2 separate regions of the Homo sapiens genome follow, and region 2 is linked to region 1. Evidence: promoter capture Hi-C in human tissues and cell types (Jung and others, 2019). All regions are on one chromosome and are shown on one strand. Each heading gives the region's core, a stretch centred on a gene start or on the middle of the fragment in contact. The rest is flanking DNA. Distances are from core to core; before and after follow the strand shown. Region 1 holds the start of CST4 (cystatin S). Region 2 overlaps LNCNEF (lncRNA neighboring enhancer of FOXA2).

Region 1 (2,685 bases), core at 77-2,576:
CCTCTCCTGACACCCCCACTGCCTCACAGGGGTCTCCGTGCACCTTCCACCGGTCCTCACCCACAGTTACCGTGAGACTCCAGGTGGTTTCCTCCCTTGCTCACATCCCCTCCAGGAGCTTCCTCTTCCTGGAGCAGGCATGTCCCAACCCCACCTCAGGGCCTTTGCACTGGCTGTTCCCCGCTGCCTGGGGCTGCTCAACCTCTCCAGTCTCATAGAGACCACCCTGACCAGGGTCCAGTGGTCTCTCTCTAGCCCCTGTTCTATTTCACTTCCAACAGAGTGAGTATAACTCCCTGATCCTAATTGTTGATCGTAACCTACCATCCTCTACACACACTGTGTAGGAATTTACTGTGCAGTTCCACAGCCACCAGCCACATGTGCCACAGGACACTTGAAATGGGGCCAGTCCAAAATGATTCCTGGGCTAAGTGTAAAAAATACACAGGGAATTTCAAAGATTTACAAAACCAAAAAAAAAAAACACACATAAACGATCTCATTAATAATTGTTCCCGTTAGCTGAAATAATATTGTGGCTATATTAGGTTAAATAAATATTTTAAACATTACTTTCACCCATTTATTCTCATCTTTTAAAATGCATCTACTAGAAATTTTCAAATGCTTGTGGGTTCATGTCACATCTCTGTGGGCAGCAGCTCTGCAATGTCACCTCTATGGCTCATCATCCAGGTTCCGTCTTCAAGCCCTAGACCTCCTGGCATGGGCAGTAACTGGTGATAGGTTTGTTTATTGAATAATGAGTTATGAAAACAGAAGCCAGTGACCTTTTCCAAAAAGGTTAATTCCCTTAAATTTGGCAAAGAAATTCTCCATATTAGGGTGTGGACAGGGTCTTCTGGAACCTTCTGAAATAACCTCTCTGTTCCAGAGATTCAGAGACCGTGACCAAGTGCTCCTGGAAGCCTCTGATATCTGAAGACCCCGGGAGGCCAAGCCCTGTATTTTTCCCCTTTCTGAGCAAACAGGAAGTCACATTGCTTTCACAGTCAAAGGACCAGTGTCACCTCTGTGGAGACCTGGGTGACTCAAGCTTGGGAGCACTGGGGAAGAGAGGCATGGCTCAGGGAGGCTGCAGTGAGGACTGGAGTGGGGAGGAGGGGGAGATGGAGGAGGAGGCCTGGGAGGGGCAGGGGGAACTTAGGCAGGGAGGGAGCTTGTAGTGGTGGGGGAGTGAAAAGAGAGATGGAGAAAGAGGGGATGGGCAGAAAGAGGAGGAGGAGTCAGGGGCAGGGCATGGAGGTGGGTGGGGCTGGGCTGCCAAAGCAGGATAAATGCACACCTGCCTGCTGGTCTGGGCTCCCTGCCTCGGGCTCTCACCCTCCTCTCCTGCAGCTCCAGCTTTGTGCTCTGCCTCTGAGGAGACCATGGCCCGGCCTCTGTGTACCCTGCTACTCCTGATGGCTACCCTGGCTGGGGCTCTGGCCTCGAGCTCCAAGGAGGAGAATAGGATAATCCCAGGTGGCATCTATGATGCAGACCTCAATGATGAGTGGGTACAGCGTGCCCTTCACTTCGCCATCAGCGAGTACAACAAGGCCACCGAAGATGAGTACTACAGACGCCCGCTGCAGGTGCTGCGAGCCAGGGAGCAGGTGGGTGCTGCCTCCACCCGAGGGGTCCTGAGCCCTAGCCTGGTTTGTTGCCGGACCCCCAAGAGCATTCCAAGCAAATCAACACTGACACATTCATGATCTAATGCTCAGATTCATTCAGCTTTCTCTGACTCTCCGCTGATGCCCTTCATGCCTAAGCATGCTCCCGGTCCATGCACTGCAGACAGTTAAAGGAAGTGCTGCAGCTTCCTTTAACCTGCAGCAGCTGCTGTGTCTGTACCATGACCGTGGCATTTCCCAGCGTCCAGCAGGTGTGGATGGAGACTGTGCTGACTCTGGGTGGGCTTGATGCTGCTCAGGATGAGATCCAGGCGGTGAGGCTCATTCTCCTCCCTGAGTCCTCTCCTCAGGGGCCACATGGGAACCTGGCTCCCTGTTCTGCAGAGCCCTTCTTCCTTCCCCAAGTCATGCCCTTGGGCACAGCCCCTTAGGGCTAGTGGCCTTCACCCTCAGGCAGGCTGACCCACCCCTGCAGGCCAGGATGGCTGAGTCCCTGCTGGGGTGGAGCACGCCTGGCCCTGCCTCTACGAGCTGATGCAGAGTTAGACCTCAGCCAGATGAGGACAGCAGTCACCCAGCAGAGCAGAGGAGGGGTTAGGTCCAGAGTGAGCTTCAGCAGGGCAACTGGGCCCAGCTTGACCTGCATCCCATGGCAGAGCAGCAAATAGTGACACAGCCTTTAGAGCTCCTCCACCTTCTAGAAATTCAAAGGAATCCAGACCAGTCCCGTTTCTCCTCCTACAGCTGTCAGCTGGAGCCCTCACCCTGCACAGGAGGTGCACTCCCTGGTGCCATGGTCCCCGCTGGCCTGCATCTCCCTCTTAAGCATGACAGTAACTTGGAGTGAAGCACAGGGCATTGCAGACCATCAGACCTGGAAGCCTATTTTATACATGGGTAAACTGATACTCGAGGGATCTCAGCAGTTCCTCCTGGTTCCAAAGAGTCCCTCATCCCAGGTTTCTCCACAGCTCTGCCACGTAGTGTCTGGGAGAGGCCCTGTGCAGGGAAAGGGTTCAATTATAATCTGCAATTGTAAGAC
Region 2 (2,685 bases), core at 132-2,631, 1.1 Mb after region 1:
CCCTACCAGCATTTCCTGGCCAAATAACCTGCTTGCACTCAAATCTTTGCATCAGAGTGGATTTCTGGGAGAGCCAAAACTAAGACACAGAACTTTTGAGCCCAGGTTTTGTTTTCATTTTACCTGACACTTTCCTGTCTGTGTGGGTTTGGAGTTTTCTGGAGAAACCATCAGAGGCCTGATCTACCAGAGAGGTAGATCTCTCCTGCCAGAACTGAGCTGTCTCCACTGAGTGTGGAAACTGGAGGGGATGTTCCCACACCCATCCTCTCTATTGGGGTAGTGCTACAGCCTCCTGAGTTGTTGTCTCAGCTGGGCTCCAAAAAGGCAGCCTCTCAATTGGAGTTTAGCATGTGGTGTGTTTACAGTCAGTGGGGTCAATTGGCAGGGGTTGGGGAGACGGACAGAAGGCAGGAGTGAGCAGAGGGAGAATCTGGTCCCCAAAGCAGCCTTGGCCAACCGTATGGTGAGCCCCAGAGCTGGTATAGTTCTCAGAGTTATCTGAGTTTGGCCGAGATGGCCAGACCCTTGTAGACTCTCATCCAACAGGACTGGATTTGGGCCACCCTAGAAAAGACCATGACCTCAAGGGAAGTGCTCTCTGCAGTTGAGTTGACCCCTGAAAGGGCTGACAGCTGAAGGCAGCTTGTGGTCTGTACTCCCAGCAGCAGACCAACAAGCCCAGTGACACCTCAGTGTCTACTGAATAGTGATTCTGGTTTCAATCTCACTTCCCTCCACCTTACTGAGAGAGGAGCTGTTGCAAACCCATCCTGGGCTTTTCTCTCCTGCTCAGAACACTCTATGACTCCCCATTCCCAAGAGAAAAGTCCAAACCCCCTAGCCTGAAAGCTCCTCAGAACAATTCTTTCTTGTCTCTGAGCTGTTCTCGCTGCCCTTCCCAGGAAGCTCCTGCCCTAACACCCGCTGCCCAGTTGCTCCCCTGTCTTTGTGCTGGCATTGCCCCCCAACCCCAACTCCAGGAGCCCTGTGTCACTTTCGGCCTGGCAAACTTTCTTTTCCTCCAGTGTTTGGCTTAAATATCAGCCCCTCAGGCAAGAGGCAACCCTCCCTTCCAGCCAAGGAAGAGTGAATTGCTATTATCTCAGTGGTGCACAGTCTTGCTGCTGCAATAATGAATTTTGTTGTGTTCATACCTATTTCTGGTTTACTCCCAGCTGTGTGAACTCCTGGAGGACATTCATGCTGCCCCATGAGCTGCGATGTGAGCTTATGGGGCATACTAGGGATTTGGTGTTTGTCAAATGAATATTGGCTGAGCTTCTCTGGGAAACAAACAAACGTGCCTTTAAATAAGAGCTAAGGCCAACATTAGGTCACACCCCTGTCACAACTGTGGCTGCAATTAAAAAGGAGAGGGCCATCTGCTGTGGGGCTTTCAGCAAGCTTCTGCACCTGCAAGCTCTTCATCATAGACTGCTCTTGGGTGCCCAGAGCCACCTGGTATACTCTCATAGACAGCTTCACGTGCCTGGGATGTGTGAGACCCCTGCCCCCAGGAGGGCCCTTAAACCAATGATGGGTGCAGCGCTGAGCCTCACTCACACACCTGAGTCCCCTTCAGGACCAGTCTGAAGCTCCTCTCTGCTGGGCATAGCCTGAAATGGCCCACACTGGGCTTCCCTGCCTTCCCCACTCCCTTACAGAACTCTCTGGGAAGCACAGTGACTTGGTAATTCTCATGCACAGGAGTCCTCTCCTCAGGCTCTGCTTCTGGGGAACTCACCTGAGACACCAATAGTAATAGACTGACTAAAGAACTATGGAATATACACACTGCACTGCAGCTGAAAAGAAAAGGTCATTCTATACGTGTGAACCTGGGAAGACCTCAAGTCATACTTTAGTGTGTAAAAGTAAGTTGAAATCTGATAAGTGAGCTAAAGTACTATTTAAGGAAAAGAAAATACTGAGTAATGCTATTGGAAAGTTAAGAAGTGCATACTCCTTCTCAAAACCTACCTCTGTGCACTCCAGCGCTGGGTTCTGCACCCCCTGTCCAGTGACCGACCTGTCTTCTGTGTTTCCCAGCAATGAGCAAACCAGCTGCTGATTATGGGGACCTCTGCTCCCACTCGTCAACTAAGAAAGTCCCTTGGAAAATGGAGCAATATTTTTTATGAACTATGTAACTATGTTGGTGAGCTTAAAGAGTATGACTTTCTTGGTTACCTGCAATGAATCCAAGTGGCATGTTTTTAGCTGATGGGTGAAACTTGACAATGGTTCCACCCCCAGAGCAGGCCCCCAGGCTGGTCTGAAGCAGCTGGTATGGAAGAAGGTGTCAGACTGGCTCTGGCAACTGAGGGTCCTTCTAAAAAGATGGATGGAGGAGGCTTCTGCCAGATTCAGGTCACCTGGAGAACATCACTTGGAAGAAAGATGGCTTTACAGATGGGAGAGGAGGGGAAGTGCAGAGACTACTAAAGGAACAGAAAAGGAAATCAGAAAGTGGAATGGTGAACAGCATGTTACCGGGGAGGGTAAAGGGGAGGTTGCAAAAACATTTGGAACCTGAGGCTTCTAGGACCAAGTGACCTCAGGAAGAGGGCAGAGAAAAAATGAAGGCAGTGTTAGCATGTAGTAAAGAGTTTAGAAAAAAATGGAAATATGGAAAAGTTGGGAGTTATTAACAGCAGTAAAAGTGAAATGCTGACTTTAACC

What was found. Contacts are between HindIII fragments. The study calls those that stand out against the background at their distance.
Region 2: a fragment that was not itself captured here is called in contact with the fragment with the promoter of CST4 in region 1 in 1 of the 25 tissues and cell types used here (dorsolateral prefrontal cortex).

What each region holds. Positions count from the first base shown.
Region 1 is chr20:23,687,679-23,690,363 of GRCh38, reverse strand. CST4 (cystatin S) reads left to right here and starts at 1,326. Exons shown (of 3, transcript NM_001899.3): 1 at 1,326-1,622. The coding sequence starts at 1,395. The HindIII fragment of the contact is 7,573 bases long and covers 1-2,685 here.
Region 2 is chr20:22,595,493-22,598,177 of GRCh38, reverse strand. All of the region lies in intron 1 of LNCNEF (lncRNA neighboring enhancer of FOXA2), which reads left to right. Among named protein-coding and RNA genes, the nearest start is that of LNCNEF, 11 kb to the left of the region's middle. The HindIII fragment of the contact is 3,832 bases long and covers 1-2,685 here.